Linked DNA regions of Homo sapiens: region 2 is linked to region 1. The links are contacts of gene promoters, found by promoter capture Hi-C in blood cells and fetal thymus (Javierre and others, 2016). All regions are on one chromosome and are shown on one strand. The core of a region is centred on a gene start or on the middle of the fragment in contact, and the rest is flanking DNA. Distances in the headings are between cores, read along the strand shown.

Evidence for each region. The method cuts DNA at HindIII sites, captures the fragments that hold promoters and counts their contacts. A CHiCAGO score of 5 or more calls a contact.
Region 2: a fragment that was not itself captured here is called in contact with the fragment with the promoter of MOGAT2 in region 1 in 3 of 17 cell types (endothelial precursors, naive B cells and total B cells); the score reaches 8.2 in endothelial precursors.

Annotation. Positions count from the first base shown.
Region 1 is chr11:75,715,244-75,720,537 of GRCh38, reverse strand. MOGAT2 (monoacylglycerol O-acyltransferase 2) reads right to left here and starts at 2,700. Exons shown (of 6, transcript NM_025098.4): 1 at 2,559-2,700; 2 at 368-546. The coding sequence starts at 2,649. It overlaps LOC105369392 (a long non-coding RNA gene), which reads left to right and starts at 2,253. Exons shown (of 3, transcript XR_950316.4): 1 at 2,253-2,332. The HindIII fragment of the contact is 5,505 bases long and covers 1-5,294 here.
Region 2 is chr11:76,327,557-76,332,850 of GRCh38, reverse strand. No RefSeq gene overlaps it. Among named protein-coding and RNA genes, the nearest start is that of THAP12, 51 kb to the left of the region's middle. The HindIII fragment of the contact is 2,592 bases long and covers 923-3,514 here.

The DNA of each region.
Region 1 (5,294 bases), core at 1,451-3,950:
GGCTAGATGGTCCTTAGAACCTGTAAGTTTATTACCTTCACTCCCAAGCCTGGGCTGCTGATGGGTTTGTGCCTTTAAGATACATAGGCATGCCTCACACCATATAACCCACAGAACTCCTTCAAATGCTGGACATCCATCAATCCACATATTGGCCCCGCATCCCTGCAGATGCGAAACCATGATCGGAGAGAAGCTGGACTCTTCTCTAGGTCACATAGTAGCGGAAGCCCTAGCTCCTGCCTCCCAGCCCAGTACCCTCCTCAGTGCATGCAGGGCCATATTCTCCCATGGAGACGTCGGCACTCTGGCCCTGACCACACCCCAGCCAACTCCCTCCCCAACCCCAACCAGCCTCAATACTCACCGAGATGGGGAAATAGTCCTTCATGTACTTCCATATAGTCCAGCACCTGATGGCCTGGATGTGCCGGCCCCCCTGCCGTGGCTTGTCTCGGTCCAGATACCACCAGGCCGCATACAGGACAGTGAGGAGCCAGAATCTTGTAAACAGGAGGGCTATGAAGCCCACAGTGCAGATCTCGGCTGGGGAGGGAAGAAGGAGCTGTCAGGGACAGGGGTCTGAGAGGAAGGCAGGTGAGATTGCTCAGACTGAACTCTGCCCATAGGCCTGGCACTAGCAGCACTGTCCTGTCCAATCCTCGGGCCCAGGAGGAAGACAGCAGCTTCCGGGGCATTCAAAGAGGAGACAAAGTCCCTGAGAGGGACTACGGCCAGCCCAGTGTCACTGGGAGCACGCGTTGAGCCTAGGTAGGCCTAACTCCAAAGCTCACTTTCTCCCACTGCACCAGGCCGCCTAATTCACTCCATCCCCTGCCTGTCCTCCTTCTCCCCAGGAGAGTTGTTTGTACTCATTAAGTGCTCAATCAATGGGGACAACTGGTTGGATAAACTGTTCTAGTTTCCATCTTTTGGGATCTCAGAGCAAAGGGAGACCCTTTCCTGCTCTCTTTCTGTTCATCCTCTGCCCCATTTTCCCAGAGATAAATCCAGCCAGGTGCCTCCCCTTATTCAAGCCCTTCATGACTTCCCCATAACTTTGGGCACAGTCCAAGTAGCTCAGCCTGGCCTCCAGGAGCCCCAGAGCTGGCCCTGTCCCTCCCGCTCCTGCCTCTTGTCTGTGGCCACTCTGAACTACACAGTGTTCCCAAACCTGCTGAGCTCTGATTCCTTTGCCTTCAGTGACCAGTGACGTTTGTTGTTGAAAGGAGGGAGGGAGGAAGAGGCCAGCCCCTGGCCGCCCCATAATCAGGGGTGCATCAGGGCTAAGACCAGGCCTAGTGTGGAATTCCCCTCTGACTGATGGTTTCTCAGCCCTTACTGGAGGCAAATCCTTGATTGTTTGGCTCATCTGTGCAAAGGGGGTATACAGGAATGTGTAAAATGTCTAAAAACCCTTAGAACAGAGACACAGCTCAACCAGAAGGGATGCTAGGGCAGGGTCCTGGAGGGCCTGCTTTGCCAAGGGGGAGTTTTTTCACTACAGAATTGTGGGGGAGTTTCTGAGGAAGTACGTGTGTGTGTGTGTGTGTGTGAGAGAGAGAGAGAGAAAGAGAGATGGCTACTGAGCAATGTGTTCAGAGTGTGTCAATATTTTAACAACCAGGAGAGTGGTATCTGTGTACAGGCTGAACCTCAGCCCTGGAAGCAGCAGTTCCTACCTTGTCTGGTGCCAGCAGATGAAAGGAAAAACCCCACGGACTCCTAGTCATTCTCCCTTCCCAAGCCACAGATCCAGACCCTCCTAGAAAATGTTACCTTTGGCAGAGCTATTGTTTGGGCAAGGGTGATCTCTCTGGCCACAAATCAGTGGTGGGGTGGGTAAGGGGCCATGCTCATGCCCTCCAGTGTGAGCCCAGCCCAGGGTCCAGGCCAGGTCTGTGCCAAGCAGAGGTCAGCACATTTCTTCATTTCCTTCACAATAGCCCTGCAAGGCCAGCATTGTTGTCCCCGTTCTGCAGATGGTGAAGTCGAGGCTTGGAGAGGTCAGGCATGGGCTGGCTAAAGTCAGTTGCCCAGCTGAGTCTGACTCCGGGTTTCCTGGTACCCAGCATGCCCACTCCACAGTCCACTCTCAGTCTGCACCTTCTCCCCACCCTTCTTTTCTTTCCCTGTTTCTCTCACTTACCCTACTACCAGCCCCAGTTTCCTCCTCCCTGAGCGCACAGAAGGAAATCTCTCCTCTCTGAGCAGGCTGCAGAGCCCAGAACTTTCCCGTCATCGCCCAGAGGCTTTCCCACACCACTTGGCAGCCTGCAGACTGGTCTTCATCCAAGTGCCAAAGGAGAACCCACAGTGCAAGCCAGGAAGAGTAAGTAACCTGCCCAGAGCAGCAGACGGTGACTTCTACCCCACTCCACCCCCAAGAAGCCTCTGGGCAGGCCCAGGAGTTCTCTCTGGGCAGGGGCTCTGAGCGCAACAAAGCCCCCTTTAGGATAAATGTCTTGCCACCATCAATGTGCTGTGTGCACCTGGTGTGGCTGCTCTGCCCCACCTGAGTGCGGTGGTCTCCCGTCTTACAGTGCAGCCCAACTTACCCAGTGCCAAGAAGGAGAAGACAAACTGTAGGACAGCAAGTGTCTGCAGCCTGCGCTCCCACGGCATAAACAAGGGCGCGAACTCTACCATGCTGGCGGGTCAGCCTGGCTCCCGCAGGTTCTGTGAGCTCTGCTGTGGTCTGAGGCACCCACAGGTTTTTGTTCCCTCCCCAGGTTGTAGAAGCTGGCAGGGAGAGTGCCACACCCAGCCCAGCCCAGCCCAGCCCCAAGGCCTCCTTGCCCCTGCTGAGGCAGGAAATTCTATCCTACAAGAAACCTTTGAATCTACCTGCTGGAGCCTGGCTAAGGAAGGAGGAAGAGAAGGGGTTGTATAGCCTTTATCAACTTTCTCAGGCAATGCCTTATCTGCATGGCTGCCTTTCCCCAATTGCTTAAATCTTGTCCTTCCTATAACTAGGCAGGTGAAGCCCCAAGCATATGCAATCTCACCCCCTTCCCACCTATTCAATGACCTGGCCCCAAGGTCAATGGATAGGATAACCTTGTCCTGTCCATTGTTCCCCCTCCACACATATGCTGTACTAACTCCCACCTAAAAATCCCCACCCACACTGTGTCCTCCACCTCCTGCCCCATTTTTCTGCTCACTCACACAGCAAACTCTCGGAAGAGCTATCTTTCATGCCTTCCTGTCCTCACCTCCCATCTGTGGTACCACAAATGGTGGTCCACACTTCAGGTATCACCCTTCCACAAAACTGCCCTTGGCAAGTTCCCTAGTGACCTCCATGATGTTAAATCCAGTAATCAATTCTCAGATCTCATCCTGACCTATTGGCAGCATTAGATATGGTTGATCATTCCCGTTTCTTTGAAACCACTTGGCCTTTGGACACTATGCTCTCCCAGTTTTCTTCCTAGCTCTCTGGCTGCTCCCTTTGTGCCTCTCGTCTTTCACCAGGCCAGCTGTTCGAGTCCCCCTCCTCCACTCCATCCTCGGGACTTCTCTTTTCTCTCCAGTTTCTGCTCTCTGAGATCTCATCCAGGCTCACACCTTGCATTGTATTTACACAGCAAAGACTTCCAAATCTGCATCTGCAGCTCTGCTCCCTGGGGCTCTAAACTTGAATCTCTAGGTGGCTCCTTGACATCTTCACTTGAATGCCTGATAGGCACCTCCATCGTAGCATGTCTAAAGGTGAACTTGATTCCCTCCCCCACCTCCCTTCTGCCCCACTGACTCCTCCTCTGCTCTTTCCCATCTCAGTAAAGGGTAATGCCATTTACCCAGTTGCTCAGGCCAAAACCTGAGTCACACTAGATCCCTTCTGTTCTTCTCCATCCACCTCTACCAGTCACCATGTCCTATCAGTTCTTCTAAGTCCCTCCTTTTAAATGTCAACTTCAAATTGACGTATACCATACATACGGAAAAATGCACAAATCCTAAGCGGACAGAGAAATGTCTTTTCACAAAGTGAAAGTTATCACCACTCTGATCGACAAACAGAACTTACCTAGCACCCCTTCTGGCCTTGCCAGTCACTGCTCTCCTCCCTGTAGCTCAGCACCATCCTCATCTCTGTTCTTGAACTTTATGAAAACTGAATCATTTAGTGTATACTCTTTTGAGACATCATATGTGCCTGTATTGCCTTTGTTTTCATTGCTGTATAGCATTCCATTGTGTGAATATGCCACAAAGTGTCCATTTGGACGCTGACAGGCATTTGGGCTGTCACCTGTTTCTGGCTATTATGAATATTGCTGCTACGAACATTCCTGTACATGTCTTTCAGTACACATCTATACACATTTCTGTTGGGTATGTGCCTGGAAATAGAATTGATGGGTCTCATGGTAGATAGCCATAGAGTTTTCCAAAGTGGTTGTACAAATCTACACTCCCATAGCCTTATATAAGAATTCCGAGTTCTGAATTTTGGTGGGTGTGTAGTGGTCCTTCATTGTGGTTATAGCATTTTCCTAACAACTAATAAATATAAGCACATTTTAATATGCTTACTGACCATTTGGATATCATTTTCTATGACCTTCTTGTTCTAGTGTTTTGTTGATTTCAGTCTCTTGAACTGAACAGCTGCTGTCTACCTCCACAGCCAGCCTCTTTTATAGACTGGCTCTGTCTTCCTTATTGGCCTCTCCGTTTACTTTCTATCCTCATTCTCCTCTCCACAATTTCAACACAGCAGGAGAAACTGCTGGGTTTATGAATATGTGAATGTTCAAGTTTGGGAGTAGAGCCAAACTGTTTTCCAAAATAATACATCAAGGTATAGTCTCCCCAAGAATCGAGAGACCCCACCCCCACCCCCATGGATCTGCTCTGACCCTTGGTATGGTCAGACTTCTTCTTGTCTTGCTAGGGTATGAAATGAGACCAAATTTTACTCTTGATTTTCATTTTCTTATCACTAATTTTTTTTTTTTGAAACCAAATCTCCCACTGTCGCCCGGGCTGGAGTGCACTGGCACCATCTCGGCTCACTGTAACCTCTGCCTCCCGGGTTCAAGCCATTCTCCTGCCTCAGCCTCCCAAGTAGCTGGGACTACAGGTGCCCACCACCATGCCTGGCTAATTTTTGTATTTTTAGTAGAGATGGGGTTTTACCATATTGGTCAGGCCGGTCTCAAACTCCTGACCTCAGGCGATTCGCCCGCCTTGGCCTCCCAAAGTGCTGGGATTACAGGCGTGAGCCACCGCGCCCGGCCTACACTAATGTTGAACATCTCTTTATTTATGGGCATTTCCTC
Region 2 (5,294 bases), core at 969-3,468, 610 kb before region 1:
GAGCTGCAGCAGCATTGTGGATTAGCTACAATGAGACCATATAGTCTGGGTATGGTGGCTCAACGCCTGTAATTCCAGCACTTTGGGAGGCTGAGGCAGGTAGATCACTTGAGCCCAGGAGTTCAAGAGACTGTATAGTCCTCAAGCCTAAAATAGTTACTGTCTATCCTTTACAGAAAAAGGTTGCTGACCTCTGCTTTAAACAATGCTGCAACAAATATCTTTCCCCATTACTGCAAACATGTAAGTAGATCTCTCATAAATAGCCCATTTGGTCTAAGCCAATCTGAGAGACATAGCTCAAAAAGCACATTTCACCGATTTTAGTTAATTTTTCTTTTATTATAAGTGAAGTTAACTAAGCATCTTTTTAAACACATAAAAGTGTTGGGCCATGTGTGGTGGCTCACACTTGTAATCCCAGCAATTTAGGAGGCTGAGACAGGAGGATAATTTGAGCCCAGGAGTTCAAGACCAGCTGGGTAACATGGTGAGACTGCTATCTCTACTAAAACTACTACCCAGGCGGGGTGTGGTGGCTCACGCCTGTAATCCCAGCATTCTGGGAGGCGGAGGCAGGAGGATCACTTGAGGTCAGGAGTTCAAGACCAGCCTGGCCAACATGGCAAAACTCCGTCCCTACTAAAAATACAAAAATTAGCCAGATGTAGTGGCGGGCACCTGTAATCCCAGCAACTCAGGAGGCTGAGGCAGGAGAATCGCTTGAACCCAGGAGGTGGAGGTTTCAGTGAGCCGAGATTGTGTCACTGCACTCTAGCCTGAGTGACAAGAGCGAAACTCCATCTCAAAAATAAAATAAAATAAAATAAAATAACTACCCGGTGTGGTAGCACATGCCTGTAGTCCCAGCTACTAGGGAGGCTGAGGCAGGAGGATTGCTTGAATCTGGAAAGTCAAAGCTTCAATTAGTCATGATTGTTCCACTGCACTCCAGCCTGGGTGACAAAGTGAGACCCTGTCTCAAAAAAAAAATTATATACATATATTTATATGTGTGTGTATATATATATATCATGTGTGTGTTTCCTCTTTTCTGTAAAATGTTTTTTTCAATTTGATAAAGAATATGGGCCAGGTGTGGCGGCTCACGCCTGTAAACCCAGCACTTTGGGAGGCCACGGTGGGTGGATCACTTGAGCCCAGAAGTTCGAGATAAGCCTGGGCAACATAGCGAGATCCTATCTCTACAAAAAGTTTAAAAATTAGCCAGGCATGGCTGGGTGCGGTGGCTCACACCTGTAATCTCAGCACTTTGGGAGGCTGAGGTGGGTGGATCACAAGGCCAGGAGATCGAGACCATCCTGGCTAACACGGTGAAACCCCGTCTCTGCTAAAAATACAAAAAATTAGCGGGGCATGGTGGCGGGAGCCTGTAGTCCCAGCTACTTGGGAGGCTGAGGCAGGAGAATGGTGTGAACCCAGGAGGCGGAGCTTGCAGTGAGCCGAGATCGCAACACTGCACTCCAGCCTGGGCGACAGACTCTGTCTCAAAAAAAAAAAAAAAAAAAAATTAGCCAGGTGTGGTGGTGCGTGCCTGTAGTCCTGGCTACTCAGGAGGCTGAGGTGGGAGGATCACCTGAGCCTGGAAGGTTGAAGCTGCAATGAACTGTGATCATGCCACTGCACTCCAGCCTGAGCAACAGAGTGAGACCCTGTCTCCAAAAAAAACAAAAAATATGAGCAAAAGTATTTTTCTTATTGCTTTACAAAAACAAGGGGGAATTAGCATTTTGTGTCTTGCATCCAAATGTTTTCTCCATTTGTTACTTGACTGACTTTTTTTTTTTTTTTTTTTCATGTAATAATGCTCACCTTGTCAGTGAAGGGAAGGTGGGTCCAGGTGCTGACAGTGAAGGGGATGGGGGACCTTGGCCAGGCAGACAATACTTGTTTCTGGATCCCCTACCTTGTTCCCAGCCCTGTCCCAGGCACTGGGGTCCAGCGGTGAGTGAGGCGGGCGGAGGCTCTGCCATCATGGCAGTGATGGGTAAGCAGGGCAGTACTAAGCGCAGGTGTTACAGGGACACCTCCCCAGCTGGACCTGAAGAATGAAGAGGGACTACCCAGGGGTCCGGGCTGCAGCGGGAGGATTCTGAGCAATAACTCGTACAAGGTTAGATCTTGGAGAGACAGAGGTTTCAGAGTGCAGGTTCTTGGAGCCTAAGCTCTACTGAGTGGTGATGAAGCACCTGGTATGGCCACACATGAAAGGCAAGGACAGGAGTCCCAGGAGTCTCGTCAAGTCTCTGAGGTGCACAGAAAGCTGCCCTGTGAGGGTCTAGAGAGTTTCACCTCTTTGTATGGAGGAGCAAAGTACCTCTCAGGGCTGCAGCTACCCTGCCAACAGACTTAAACTAGGGTCTGAGGGTTTAGAATTGGCCAGGGCGGAGGTGAAGCATTGCTCCGCACCAGGAACAGCAAAGGGCGTGAGGACAAGTCTGGCCTCTCTTGCAACGAAGACCTCTCCCTGCCCTTCCACAGCCCTAGCCTCCACTTCAGTTCTACCTCTCCAGAGTATCAAAGGGAGAGACAACTATGCCTGCAAAGACCAAGCGGCAGCCTGGGAGGGGAGGAGGGGGCTGGAGGGAGATGTGGCTAGAGGGTGAGACCAGCCCCTCAGGCCTTTAACATCAGGCTAAGCCAGCAGCCTACCAGCTGCTCCCCTGCCCAAAGCACCACCCCCAGAGCTCCCTGCAGGCGATGACAAGGATGAAGTGGGGAGGCAGGGGGAGAGTCAAGAGCTCACAAAGGTTCTGCTGTGCTTGACCAGGGCCTCCGCCAGAGCCAGATTGTTTGCTTGCTTGGAGGGAAGGATCTGATTTAAAAAGGTGGTGGCCCTGGGGTTCAGGGCCAGGCCTGCTGGCTGCCATCCTACACAGCAGCCCCACTCCAAACTCTCCATCCTGGGGCCCCCTCATTCCTCTTTACTTTGGTGTTCCCAGTTAGACCCAAGTAGGACTCCACAGCTTTGGGCAGAGGACTTACAAAGCAGCAGGGGCCAGTGCTCACACTTGGGACTCTAGATCACTGGGGGACCTGCAGGACCAGCCTGCTGGGGACTTCATGGAGAAGGAGGTGCGTGGAGGTGGCCCTTCACTGAGCACCTGCTGTATGCTGGGCATTGGGCAGGGCACTTCGTTTATGGGGTTCCCTTTTCATCCTTTAAGCAACAGTAGGTATTATTGTCTCCATTTTACAGACAAGAAAAGAGAGTCCTAGAAAGGCTAAGGGGACTCGCCCAGGTTTACACAGTGAGTCAGTGGTAGGGCTAGAATTCTAACTCAGGTTGGCCCCACCTGTGAATCTAATCTGTGCTTAACCCCTACACTGCTTTGTGCAGGACATAACCCTGTCTTGCACATGTCTGGCACAGAGTGAAGGTCCCATCATGTTGACTTTATCATGCACTTTCTCAGCTGGAGCTGTGGGCCTCACAGCAGCCCTTCGGGGTCAGTAATGCTTCTCTCGCTTTCATGATGTGGAGGCTCAAGCTTGCAGAAGTTGAGCAACTTGCCCAGGGTCACACAGCTAGTCGCAGAGGGTCAGGGAAGTCGGGGAAGTTCAAAGAAATGTGGAGTAGAGTGGGTTTGCCCAAGGAATGACAGGAATGTTCAAGGAACTGAAAGCTGGAAGTGTCTGCGGAAGCTGCAGATCTGCCGGCAAGCAGTGGGGCTGCTTATGGAGTAGTGAGCCCAGGCCCTGGAGCGGGGTCCTGGGGGACTCTCACTCAGCAGAAGAGCAGCCATCAGACACCTGGGCTTGGGACGCCTGCCTGGTCCCTTGTGTTACTTGGAAATGTCAGCAAGAAGGGCCCTTCACCGGGCATGTTTCTCTTCTGTCAGATGAGGGCTGTTAAATGAGGTCTTTGATTTTACTGTTCAGCAGTGGCATCTTTCTTTAAAATAGTCTTGGCCAGGCATGGTGGCTCACACCTGTAATCCCAGCACTTTGGGAGGCTGAGGCAGGTGGATCACCTGAGGTCAGGAGTTCGAGACCAGCCTGGCCAACATGGTGAAACCCCCGTCTCTACCAAAAATACAAAAATTAGCAGGGCATGGTGGCGTGTGCCTATAGTCCCAGCTACTCTGGAGGTTGAGGCAGGAGAATCGCTTAAACCCAGGAGGTGGAGGTTGCAGCGAGCCGAGATCGCGCCACTGCACTCCAGTCTGGGTGACAGAGTGAGACTCTGTCTCAAAAAAAAAAAAAAGTCTTAAGCTGAACTTTATTCATTCGCCCATTCAACAAATATTGAGACTTTCAAGGCACCTGAAACATATGGTTGACCAGACTTCTTCCTGCTTTGAGTGTCTCTGACTTGTGTTACAGAAATTAAGGGTCCCTACCCCTCCACTCAGGGTAGGAATGGGGCCACCTGGGCTGCTATGGGCCCATGCCCTCATTTGGGAGCTCCTTAACCATGGTGCTCCTCTGAAAGGTTCCCTGTCAGAGCTGAGTATATTCATATACTCACAATTGGCCATTTCACAGATTGGGTGGGAAGGCCCAAAGAGTGGGCCAAACCCTGGGTCCCCTGAAGCAGCCTCTTTGTGGCATCATTCATCAAAGAGGCTTTGTGCAATCGGAGGAAACTGGGCGTGTCCATGAGGAGAGAGAAGCAGCGAGGAGGCAAGAGTGAGCAAAGCCCACCAGGCGGGAAAGAGGCCCATTTTGCAGAAGCCAACCCCCTCCCTCCGCCTGGCAGAGCCTTCCTAACAACCTTCCCTCCTCCACCCACACCCGCCAGCCTCTGCCCAGAGCCAGGGTGTCAGCTTGGGTTTGGTGACAGCAGCCCTGAAGGAGGTGTTGGATGGTTGAAGCCCTCCATTGTAGCAGCTCTGGCATCTTCTATGAGCCCAGCCTCGCCAAGTTGTCCTCTTGCCAACTGGAGAGAGGCTGGCTCCTGAGGGATCCTCTCCAACTAGGTAACTCGATTCCCTGCAGCCCAGCACCAGCCCAGCTCTGGCCACCAGAGCCGGAGCTCTGAAGAGTTTACCTCCAACATGGCAGTGAGCAGTTTTCAAGGTCAAGGAGGGTGGCCACCAGGAGCTCCTGAGCCAGGGTGCATGGGGAGAACACAGGGCTGGCAGGCCAGGTTCTAGCTCCAGCTCTTCACTAACTTGCTGTGTGTCTTTGAATGTATCACCTCCTCACTCCGGACCTCAGTTCTCATAAAAGGGAGACTGACAGAAGGTCCCTAAGTGCTTACAGATGGACTGGCCAGGGTCGTCTTGGTCTATAGCATCCCTTTCAAATAAAGATCTGACTATTCTGTG